Linked DNA regions of Homo sapiens: region 2 is linked to region 1. Evidence: promoter capture Hi-C in 16 types of primary human blood cells and fetal thymus (Javierre and others, 2016). All regions are on one chromosome and are shown on one strand. The core of a region is centred on a gene start or on the middle of the fragment in contact, and the rest is flanking DNA. Distances in the headings are between cores, read along the strand shown.

Region 1 (5,960 bases), core at 1,742-4,241:
GGGCTTCCCTTTAAAGGCTCTGCTCTGGCTCTTCCCCAGCTGTGCTCCTACATCTGAGGAGTCCATTAAGCCAAGAAATGTGTCCACCTGGAGGTGACTGTACCCCTTCAGACCTCACATCAGGTACCCAGGAGCCAGTATTCCCTGCCCAAATGGCTCTGAGCCACTTCCAGAGCCTGCATAGGCTTCTCCCCTAGATCCTGAGATATGCACCCCTGGACCTGTGGAATAGCCAAGAAATGACTGTTTTGGAGGGGAGAAAGTGAAGACAGAGCTTGGACATGTGGGCTAGTGCGTTCATGGAGTGGAGGGTACCTGGCACTGTAGGGCTGAAGGGGCCATGGGAAGCAAAGGGTAAAGGCTGCTCCATGTGGGGAGCAGTTCTCTCTGACCTGCCTTGTTCCAGCAAGGAGCTCTGAGAAGTCTCAGAATTCTCAATTCAAACTGGGTCTTCCAAGTTGTTATGAAAGTACATTTGTCAAGGTGAAAGGATATAATGCTTTTAGTACTCCATTTGTTAGCTTTTTAACTTTCACATATTTAGACATTTGGTATGTGGGTCTCCATGTGTAGCCTTCTCATGGTCCCTACAAATATTAAAATTGGTCCCGGCTCCCCATTTAATATGGAATCCAAGTCAAATCGGCTTGGCCTGATTTTTAAGGCCTTTTACTATTTGATTTTTCTCTAATCTTACCTCCCGCTACTCTCTGCAGGAATCTTCTATCTGTCAAACCTGTCGACCTACAGCCCAGGCTCAGCCCACATCCTTTTCTCTGTGCTCAGGTTCACATTATTTTTCTCCTCTGAAAGGCCTCCGTTTCTGCCTTGGATTTATATGGCCAACGTAGTGTTTCATTATGACCCAGCTCAAGCCTCACAGCCATGTCTCCTCCTCTGGACTCTTCTAACAGCTTTTGTCTCAGCCACTTATTGGCACTCAAAGTGTGCAACTGTGTGTGGCCATTTTTCATATTATGCACAAGGTGTGGCTATAAGATAAGGAGACATAAATATGCAAGTTTTCAAACCAGGACAAGGGACAGGGAAAAAAAAAAAAAAAAGAAGAGTTGCCAAAGAATCAGGAGAATGTAGTTAGGCAGCTACTAAGGGAAGAGATGTCAGCATTGTCAATAAGCTGAGAGAGGTCATGAGAAAGATACCCCAAAATAGACCATTATTCTAGAAGGTAAGAGGTCTTTTGTAACCATTGAAAGAATAGCAGATTGTGTGAGCAAAAGCAACGCTGTAGTGGGAAAAATAAGAGATGAGAAAGTGGAGACAACAAGTATACTTTTATTTATTTATTTAGAGACAGGGCCTCAATCTGTGGCCCAGGCTGGAGTGCAGTGGCTTGGTCACAGTACACTGCAGCCTCAACCTCCCACACTCAAGCGATCATCCCATCTCAGCACCCCGCCTCCCCCACCGCGAATAGCTGGGACTATAGGTGTGTGCCACCACACCCGGCTAGTTTTTTATTTTTTGCATATAGGGGAGCCTTATTATGTTCCCAGACTGGTTTCAAACTCCTGGCCTCAAGCAATCCTCCCACCTTGGCATCCCAAGGTGCTGGGATTACAGGCATGAGCCACAGTGCTCAGCAGCAAATATAATGTTTCCCAAGAAGTGTGATTCCTAGGAGAAAGGAGAAGGTAGTTTGGGTGGAAGAGATTGGGTGGCTTTGTTCTGTTCAAAGGATGGGCGAGACTATGTTTGTGGGAGAAAGATTTAGGTTAGAGGAAGAAATTAATAATGGGGAAAGAAAGAATAGCTGAATAAAATCTGGGAATGGCTGGGATCCAGGGCACAGGTGCAAGATTTAACCTTGAGGAGAAAGGGCACTTCTTGCTGTGGGTGAGGGAGTGAAGAGGGTAAGATGAATGAAGGTACAGGATAGGCATAATAATGAAGAGCCTGGATTTAAGGGTGAAGCCACTGGCTCACATTATAGAGGAAAGGCTAGGAAAGCCGAATTTTCTGGGGCCAGGTCCAGATTTAATATATTTAAGTATAACAGTCTTAATTCATTCCTTTCACCTTATTCAGTGCCCTGGGTGTGCCAAATACTACTGGGCACTGGGGTCTACAAAGGTACGACTTTTCATGTAATGTTGGAATTTGTTATGTTGGTAACTCGAGATTTGCATATATTTAACAGTCTTAATTCATTCCTTTCACATTATTCAGTGCCCTGGGTGTGCCAAATACTACTGGGCACTGGGGTCTATAAAGGTACGACTTTTCATTAATTTTGGAATTTGTTATGTTGGTAACTCGAGATTTGCTTTTCATTCTTCTGGAAGGCTGTATGTAGAAATAAATACAGTCATCAGACGAGTTCTTTGTCAGACCAGATGTCCTGGGTTGGGGTTTGGAAAACATGGGCATCTTAACAATGGTGCCCTGTTTGAGGTGGAGAGGGAGGAGAGGCCCAAATCGGGGAAAGGAATTAAATGGAGGTTTAGACGCGGGTAACCGGAGTGGGTGGGCCTTCAACCTGGAAGATGGGAATCCCCAGCGCACTTCGGGCAGCGCTGTAACCAAGGGTAACCGCACCTCGGTTTACACCGGTGTGAAGACCAGCCTCTTCCCCAAACCAGGTGTATCTACGGCGGCCTAGCAGGACCACACACAAGCCAAGCACGTCACGTCATTCGAGCTACCTTACCGCGAAAGTCCACTGCCTCCTACTACTTCTGGTCACTACTACCTTTGCTCACAGTTTATTAAGGAGGAGCGGAGAAGAAGAGGGGCGGAGAAGGGGCGGGGAGAATCACCTTTCCTTTTTTACAATTGGTCGTAGTAGACTCCGAGTCCTGCCGCCCGTCCTGCAGCCGACAGGCTGCCAGGACTGTCACTCGAGGAGCTGCCGCTACCGCCCCCCGCCGTGGCCCCGCCCCTTGCCGTGGCTGGGATCTCGCGGGAAGAGCTGCGGGCACGGCGGTGGCTCGGTCTCCCGGCTGCGCGCGGAGCGGGAGGGCTCTCCTCACACAAGCGCTTCCTTGCCGAGAGGCTGGAGCTGCGGCACCGCAGGCCTGAGCCACCCCTTCTCTGCTGTCTCCTTCTCTTCCTCAGGGCTCCCGTGTCTGCTCGCCCTCCGACGCTGCTCAGGTTAGAAAGCCCGGAGCGCGTCTCCGCTGAGGAGCGGTCGGGGAGCGGGGACACGGAGCAGCCGGAGCAGGCGGGCTCCTGACGGGGGCGGCTCTGGGGGCTGCGCGGCGCTGCCTGGTGGGCGCGAGGCTTGGCGGGGTTTGGGAGTCCGGGGGGCGAGGAGGCGGTGCAGTGGGATCCGGGCGCGGGCGCCCAAGGGCGGTGTAGCGGGTGCCGGAGCTCCCGAGGTGAGGGGGCAATGTATTAGGGATCCTGGGGGCTCTTCCGGCTTGGGGTAGGGGTGGGTGGCGGCACACGGGGTCCTAGGTCTTTGACGTCGAGGGAGATTTATCAGGGTCTTGAGCTTCTTGGAGGTGGTGTAGCGGGGTTCCGGGACAAGGGGTCTTTTTACCCGGGTCCCGAGCTCTTTGGGGCAGAGAATGCAGTTTAGCAAGGTTTACACCGGTGTAAACCTTGTCTCTGGAGGCAGATCATCGGGGTCTTGGGGGTTCTTTGAGCGGGCGTGGGCGTCCGTTTCGCATTGCTGGGATGAAGAAGCAGTGTGTCCGGGTTCTGGGGAGAGGGGTCTGTTCATCGGTGTCTCCGGGTGAGAGAGCGATGTATCCGTTCCGCTGGGGCCGGGGCCGCCTTGGGGGGTTGTTGGGGGCTGAGGGTGTGTAGCGGCGACCAGCGTCTGGCCGGGGTTTCTGCTTTGCCCGGAGCGGGGCGGTAACTTGGCATGGTCTCCAGTCTTTTGGGGGCGACGGGGCGAGTTAGCTGGCCCCCGGGCAGTCTCTCGGGGTGGGCGCGGCTCCGCAGGCGCTGGGTCCGCTGAGGGCGGGAGAGGGCTTTGGTGCTACCGCGCAGGCTGGGCAGCATCCTGAAACGTTTTTGTTCAGGTCTCCTTCTCTCTGGATGAGATTTACTCAATGCTTAGTTGGAGGATTGATCGGTGTTGTTGCCTAGTTGAAGAAGCAGTGCGTTTGTTCTGCAGTTTTCTTTTCTCTGCCCCGGGATCCCTGTGGGGGCGCGCTGGTCTCGCTGGAGCTCCGGGAGCTAGAGTGGCAGCACCTTAGGTGGGCGTTTGGTCTGCAGGTTCTTTAGGAGGCCGGTGTCCGCAGGTTGAGCGTGGATACAGCTCCTGAGCAACTGGAATCTGTTGAGGGTGGGGAAGACTGATTTTGGCTTGCTTTCCTAGGTGGTGGTCTGCTTTGCTCATCCTGCATGATTAGATCTGTTCTGAAGTCTTGCCTGAGTGAATGTTAGGCAGAGTCGGATAGTGCAGGGAAGCGTGTTCTGTCTGGCTTCTTTCTGTCCTTTGAAAAGCATTTGTAGAGAGGGATAACGTCAAATTCAGCCTCCAGAAAACAATGGAATTTGAAATCCCAAAGCTAGAACTCTGCAAAAACGTTTTCTGTGACCTGTAAGGATGGTTAATCGAGCTTTTTTAGAGAATTCTGCTTAACAGTTTCATTGTATTGTAAAAGTGTATTTAGCCTTGGATATTACAGAGGTTTTGGTAACTAGCGTAGGCGTAGGTGGGATTTAAATAAAATGACTTGTATGTATGTGTATTGGTTAAAAAAAAAAACAGCGTATAGGTGAGAAAGCCTATGTGTTTGCCTGACATTTCTTTTGGTTAGTTACTCTATCACAGAGGCCTGTATATGAAAGTTAATGTGGCAGGCAGTGAAGTCCGTACTCAGAGCTGTTCTGTAAATATGTAATCTGGGGTTAACAGACAAATTTGAGTATACCAAAGCAAATAATTTTGCCTGCCTTAGTCTTTTTCTTCGTGTCAGTTTTTTTTTTTTCTTGTTTTTTGGTTTGTTTCTTTTGAAACAGGGACTTATTCCGCCTTCCAGGCTAGGTTGTAGCATCGCTACCATGGCTCACTGCAGCCTCGACCTCCAAAGCTCAAGCAGCCCTCCCAGTTCAGCTTCCCATCCCCACCCCCAGTAGAGGAGCTGGAACTACATGCATGTGCCACCACGCCTCACTAATTTTATTTATTTATTTATTCAATTAATTAAAGACAAGGTCTTGCGCTGTTGCCCAGTCTGGTCTTGAACTCCTGGCCTCAAGTGATCCTTCAGCCTCAGCTTCCCAAAGTACTGGGATTTAGAGGCGTGAGTCACCATGCCAGGCCTCTTAGATACAATTTTTTTTAAAAGATGTCATTTTTTCTGATCTTAGAACCAGACAGATTAGGGATAATGTACTTAATTTTGGAATTTTACATCATTTTGAAAAACAAAGGAATCCCGCACAGCAATATTTAAGACTTTGAAGGGTTTAAAATAAGTTTTGTTGTTGTTGTTATTCAGACCAAAATACCTGGTTGACATTTACAGCTATCACAACTGATTGCTTGAGCAGATATTTGGTTGGAATGACAGCCCCCAAACCTGTAAGCAGATCTTATTTTTCCTTTTTTTGAGAGAAAGACAAAGAACAAATTAAGCAGGTTTCAGAAACTTTTTTTTTTCTAAAAAGCAGCTTTCATCATTTCTAAGTAAGGCATAGACTGATAAGTCAACACATATTTGATTATCTGCTAGGTGTCACAGCGCTGGATGTACACTGATTAAAGCTGTCATGTGACTTTCCCCTTTAAGTCCAGAGAGAGGAAGAAAACAAATAAATACAGTTAAAAATTGTGATACTGCTAAGGAAGAAATACACAAGGTACTTAAGATTCAGCTCTCTTTTTTTAGTAACCCCTGAATGATGATACGATTGATGTGTGTTGTGATAATAAGAAACCAAGCAAAATAGTTAACTGCCTTCTGAATTAGTAAAGAAAGATTAAATTACAATCAGTAGAGTTTTAGGTGTTAAATGTATGTTGACTCTTTGTAGATGAT
Region 2 (5,652 bases), core at 681-3,180, 200 kb after region 1:
TTCCAGGAAGATGGCATGGGGGAAAACCGTAAGTGGTGCAGAGCTGTTTGGTGGGGTGAGCTGAGGAATGTGGCAAGTAATAGGCAAGCTACACGTGTGGCTGTCTCCCATGACACTGGGCAGAGCACCTGCCTCTGTTCTCACAGGGCAATCACCTTCTCCTTTTGGTGCACTTTGCTGGTTGGTTCTACCCATAGAGCATTAGCAGCTGTGATTAGTGGGAACACAGTGTGATTCTTGAATTTATTTACTCATGAAATTTGTATTGACTGCCTACTATGTGCAAGGGATTCAGAGAATAATTACATACAAATCCTGTCCTTGCGTGACTCATATGTTGGTCAGGAAGATTTTTAAATGTGCATGAGAAATTCTTTTCTAAAGTGGGTTAGGGTCTATCTTAAGACAGGGTGATTGTTTCAGAGAAGGGATTGGTCACTTCCATCACGAGGGAGTGTATTAGTCCATTCTCACACTGCTATAAAGAACTGCCTGAAACCTGGTAATTTATAAAGAAAAGAGGTCTAATTGACTCACAGTTCCTCATGGCTGTGGAGGCCTCAGGTAACTTACAATCATGAGGGAAGAGGCACGTCTTACATGACAGTAGGCAAGAGAGAGCATGATGTGAAGGAGGAACTGTCAGACACTTATGAAACCATCAGGTCTCAAGAGAACTCACTCACAGTTTGGGGGACAACACCCCCATGATCCAATCACCTCCCACCAGGTTCCTCCCTTGACATGTGGGAATTATAGGGATTACAATTTCAGATGAGATTTGAATGGGGACACAGAGCCAAATTATATCAGGGAGGAAGTGATCAGGGAAGGCTTCATGAAGGGGGTGATCTGAGGGGTGGACAGGATTGTGGAAGTGGGGAGAGCATTCCAGGTGGAAGGAGCAGTGTGAGCAAAGGCCTAGAGATGGGAGATCATGGGGCAGGTGGTGATGGTGGGGGGACTGGGGAGCGTCTTGGGGGTAGAGGTTATGGGAGTCTGCTTAGATATCTTTCTGGACATTTTGGTCAGGGTTGGATTCAGAGTATGTCCGCAGGAAAGAAGTGAAGGGGGCAGAGTGGTATCAATAGGTCCTTTGGGTAACCTGCTGGGAATCTGAATGTATGGAGATTCTGAATGTCAGGGCTGGACAACCCTGGCAGAGGCTAAGGGAGAAAGATGAACATGTCCTCTCTGTCCAGTTTTTCGTAAGTTAGAGGATGATGATATCTTTAGTGAAATGGCACTAGCTAGAGGCAGAAGACCAACATCACACTTTGCAGCCACCGTTTGCTTCAAAATCTGCCTTGGGCTCCAGCATCCACTATTGGGTTTTTGGGCATCATGCCCAGGGTTCATGAAGCCATAGAGAAAATATAGTGGCTCTGCCTGCCTGGAGGGTAGTTTTACCTGAGGATTTGGGGGCAAAGACATTTATTAGTATTAAAACAGATGCACAGGTATTAAAAATGGAATGCACAATTTACATGAATATTTAAAATAGGATACTTCATACAATTGTTAAAGCTTACCTTTGGTGGGATCTGTGGGTTCCAATACTTGGTTTTTAGAGTGGCCTCAAGCAAGATAATCTCTCTACCTCAGCTTTGGCTTCTGTAAAATGGGAATGACAACAGTATCTGCCTCCTGGGGTTGTGAGAATTAAATGAGATAACCCAAGTGAAGTGCCTGGCACGTGGTGAACAATTAATAATGTTGGTTGTCATTATTAGCATTCTCTCCTAGGCTCTTTAGGGCACTTTGAGGGGTAGAGCATGCTGGCAGGAGACTTCAGAGGCCCTGTCCATAGACTCGAACCCCGGCTCCCTCGCCTGCTGTTCACCACCTTCACCAGCCTGATCCCTCCCCACCTCTTCCACCACGTCCCATCCACAGACCCTCTTCTCTTTATTCTCCCCAGGAGATGCAACCTTCACTTGTCTTGATTTCTGTTTGAAGAAGGCTTTCCTCTCCCCAACCTTTGCTCCCCCTTTGTGACTTCCTTTTTTATGGAGTGGCAGGTGCCTGCTCCCTTCCCCGAGCTCCTTCAGCTGTTGGTTGTACCTCTACAAGCTGCTCTGTACAGCTGCCTCTCCTTTTGTGTATCAGCCAGCTATGTGACCTGGGCCACTTCACTACCCTGTCTGGGCCTCAGCCATCTATAGGGAATGGTGTGCCCACCTCTCTGCATCATCAGAGTTGTAATCCTGGTCCATTCTTGGTGCATTCCTGGCTGATAGATTGTTCATGGAAAAGGGCAGTTTCTCTCTTCCCTCAGAAGGCAGAATTTGTGTGTATGCCTCATAATATTTAGTCTCCCTTGTGTCCAAAACTAAGCTTGGGTACATCAGAGGGTCATTAAAGATGTGAACAAAACCTCAAGGAATGGAATAATTATCTAGATGTTGATTCTTACACAGACCCCTTTAGAGACAAAACAGAGAGGCCTAGAAAAAAGACAACAAGTTCATATGCAACATGGCGTGACACTTTGCCAGGAAACAAGAACATCGAGTGTCAAATTGCTAATCTGTTTTTTGTTTTTGTTTTTTTTTTTTTTTGAGACAGAGTCTTGCTCTGTCACCCAGGCTGGAGTGCAGTGGCACTATCATGACTCACTGCAACCTCCGCCTCCCAGGTTCAAGCGATTCTCCTTCTCCTGCCTCAACCTCTCAAGTAGCTGGGACTACAGGTGCACGCCACCATGCCCAGATACTTTTTGCATTTTCAGTAACAACAGGGTTTCACCATGTTGGCCAGGCTGGGTCTCGAACTCCTGACCTCAAGTGATCCGCCTGCCTCAGCTTCCCAAAGTTCTGGGATTACAAGTGTGAGCCACTGAACCCAGACAAATTGCTAAGCTTTAAATAACTACAGCCTTGACTCACAGGCTACAGGTAAACACATCCCATAGTCCCAGATGCCTTAGTTTAGGGGCATGGACAGGAGGATTCCCTGAGGCAGTGGTCTACACAGAGAGGAAAAGCAACGCCGTTTCCAGACTTGCACTGCAGCTCTGCCACACAGTCATAAACTTAGTCTCAGTGTTCTTATCTGTAAGATGGAAGTGACTCCTGTTAAGTCAGTCTCACAGGGCAATTGTGAAGATCCAATAAAAATGAAATAGAACAGTGGGATTATTATGAATGAAGGAAGCACAGCCAGATCAGTGTCTGGCATAGGTGTTTGGTAGGTGGGCTCAGGCACTGGGAACAAGGAGCCATCTCAACAGGTAAATGGTTTCTCCAGCCCAGTGCTATTCAGAGAGAGTGCTTAGATCACCAATGTCAGAATTACCTGGTAGCTTATTAAAATATGATAGAAGCAGGGCTCGGTGGGTCACACCTGTAATCCTAGCACTTTGGGATGCCGAGGTGGGTGATTTTAAAGCAATCACCATTCTGTCTCCAAAAACAAAACAAAACAAAACAAATATATATATATATTATATACATGTAATATATATTATATATGTAATATATATACATTATATATGTTATATATATACATTATATATGTAATATATATACATTATATATGTTATATATATATAACGAGTTGTGATAGCAGGCATCTTTGTATTGTTCTTGGTTTTAATGAAAAGAAATGCTTTTAACATTTCACCATTTAATATGGTTGCTGTGTGTGTGTGTGTGTGTATAAGTAATCTTTTCATCTTTATCAGATTAAGGGTATCACTTCATATTCTAGTTTGCTAGGATTTTTTCCCTCATAATTTTTTTTATTTTTTTGGAGATGGAGTCTTGCTCTGTTACCCAGGCTGGAGTACAGTGGCAAGATCTCGGCTCACTGCAACCTCCGCCTCCCAGGTTCAAGCAATTCTCTGCCTCAGCCTCCCAAGTAGCTGGGATCACAGGTGTCCGCCACCACACCAAGCTAGTTTTTGTATTTTTAGTAGAGATGGGGTTTCACTATCTTGGCCAGGCTGGTCTTGAACCCCTGACCTCGTGATTCACCTGCCTTGGCCTCCCAAAGTGCTGGGATTACAGGCGTGAGCCACCGCATCTGGCCTTCCCTTATGAATTTTATTTTATTTTATTTTATTTTATTTTATTTTATTTTATTTTATTTTATTTTATTTTATTTTATTTATTTATTTAGAGACAGAGTCTTGCTTTGTCACCCAGGCTGGAGTGCAGTGGCGCAATCTCGGCTCACCGCAACCTCTGCCTCCCAGGTTCAAGCGATTCTCATGCCTCAGCCTCCCAAGTAGCTGGGACTACAGGCAAGTGCCACCATCCCTGGCTAATTTTTGTATTTTTTAATAGAGATGGGGTTTCATCATGTTGGCCAGGCTGGTCTCAAACTCCTGACCTCAGGTGATCCACCTGCCTCAGCCTCCCAAAGTGCTGGGATTACAGGCGTGAGCCACCGTGCCCAGCCTCCTTTATGAATTTTATAGAACTCTTTATTCCTATCATCTTTTGAGATGATCATATATGATTCATTTAAGTTGTTAGTGTGGTGATACACTGATTAATTTGCTAATGTTAAACCAATTTTTTGTTTTTGGTTTAAATACAGCTTGATTGTGATAGATCTCTTTAATCTATTGCTAGAGTCAGTTAGCTAATATTTTGTTCAGGATCTTTAAGTCTATTAATGAGTTGGCCTATAATGTTTTCTTCTTATGCTGTCCTTGCCTGGACTTGGGATTCAGGTTACGCCAACCACAAGTGAGTTGGAGATTGCTGCCTATTTATTCTATGGGGAAAAATATCTAATATTAGAATTATACATTCCCGAGTAGTTGGTAGAATTTGTCTGTGAAATTACCTGGGCGGAGCCACCATATTGCCCAACTCTAAGGGGGCACCATTTCCCTTTTAGTCTACGTGAATGGCAACCTCTGGAGTTATGCAGGGAACAACTTGGCCCTACAGCTGAATTTTCTTGATGGAAAGATTTTTTTATAACAGCCTAGTTGAGACACAATTCACATATTATAAAATCCACCCTGTAAAAGTGTACAATTCAGTGTTTTAGTTTGTTGAACACAGAGTATATTGCACAAAACCATCACCATGATCACCAGTTTTTAGAACATTTTCATCACTCCAGAAAGAACTACACCCGTTAGCAGCCATTTTCTATTCCCTTAGTTCCTGGCAACCACCTAACCTACTTTCTGTCTGTATGGATTTGCCTATTGTGGATATCTCCCACAAATGGGATTGTGCAAATATGTGGCCTTTTCTGACTGCCTTCTTTCACTTAGCAGGATGTTTTCAAGGTTCATCTATGCTGTAGCATCTATCAGTACTTTGTTTTAATGGCCAAATCATAGTCTATTGAATGGATATACCATAGTTTGTTTATCCATTCATTAGTTGATGAACAGGTGAGTTGTTTCTATTTTTTGGATATTATAAATATGCTGCTGTGAACATTCATGTACAAGTCATTTAGGTGGACAAGTTGTCAGTCTCTTTGGTGTACAACCCAGGAGTGGAGTTGCTGGATCATATGGTAACTCCATGCTTCCAAGTATATGGAGTTTTTATACTACTGATTTAACTTAATTGATCTTGGTCTGAGAATGCCCCCTGTATTATTCCAATCCTTGACGTTTGTTCAGACTAGCTTGATGGCCTAGCACATGAATAATTTTCATACATCTTCTAAGTGTGC

What was found. Contacts are between HindIII fragments. The CHiCAGO score rates a contact against its expected background, and 5 or more counts as called.
Region 2: a contact is called between a fragment that was not itself captured here and the fragment with the promoter of GLCE in region 1, in 1 of 17 cell types (M2 macrophages). The highest score is 5.3, in M2 macrophages.

The regions. Positions count from the first base shown.
Region 1 is chr15:69,157,644-69,163,603 of GRCh38, forward strand. It overlaps GLCE (glucuronic acid epimerase), which reads left to right and starts at 2,992. Exons shown (of 5, transcript NM_015554.3): 1 at 2,992-3,114. It also overlaps the pseudogene LOC100421574. RefSeq lists an enhancer at 2,654-3,154 and silencers at 2,852-3,061, 3,262-3,371. The HindIII fragment of the contact is 10,275 bases long and covers 1-5,960 here.
Region 2 is chr15:69,361,004-69,366,655 of GRCh38, forward strand. All of the region lies in intron 3 of PAQR5 (progestin and adipoQ receptor family member 5), which reads left to right. Among named protein-coding and RNA genes, the nearest start is that of KIF23, 51 kb to the right of the region's middle. The HindIII fragment of the contact is 810 bases long and covers 1,526-2,335 here.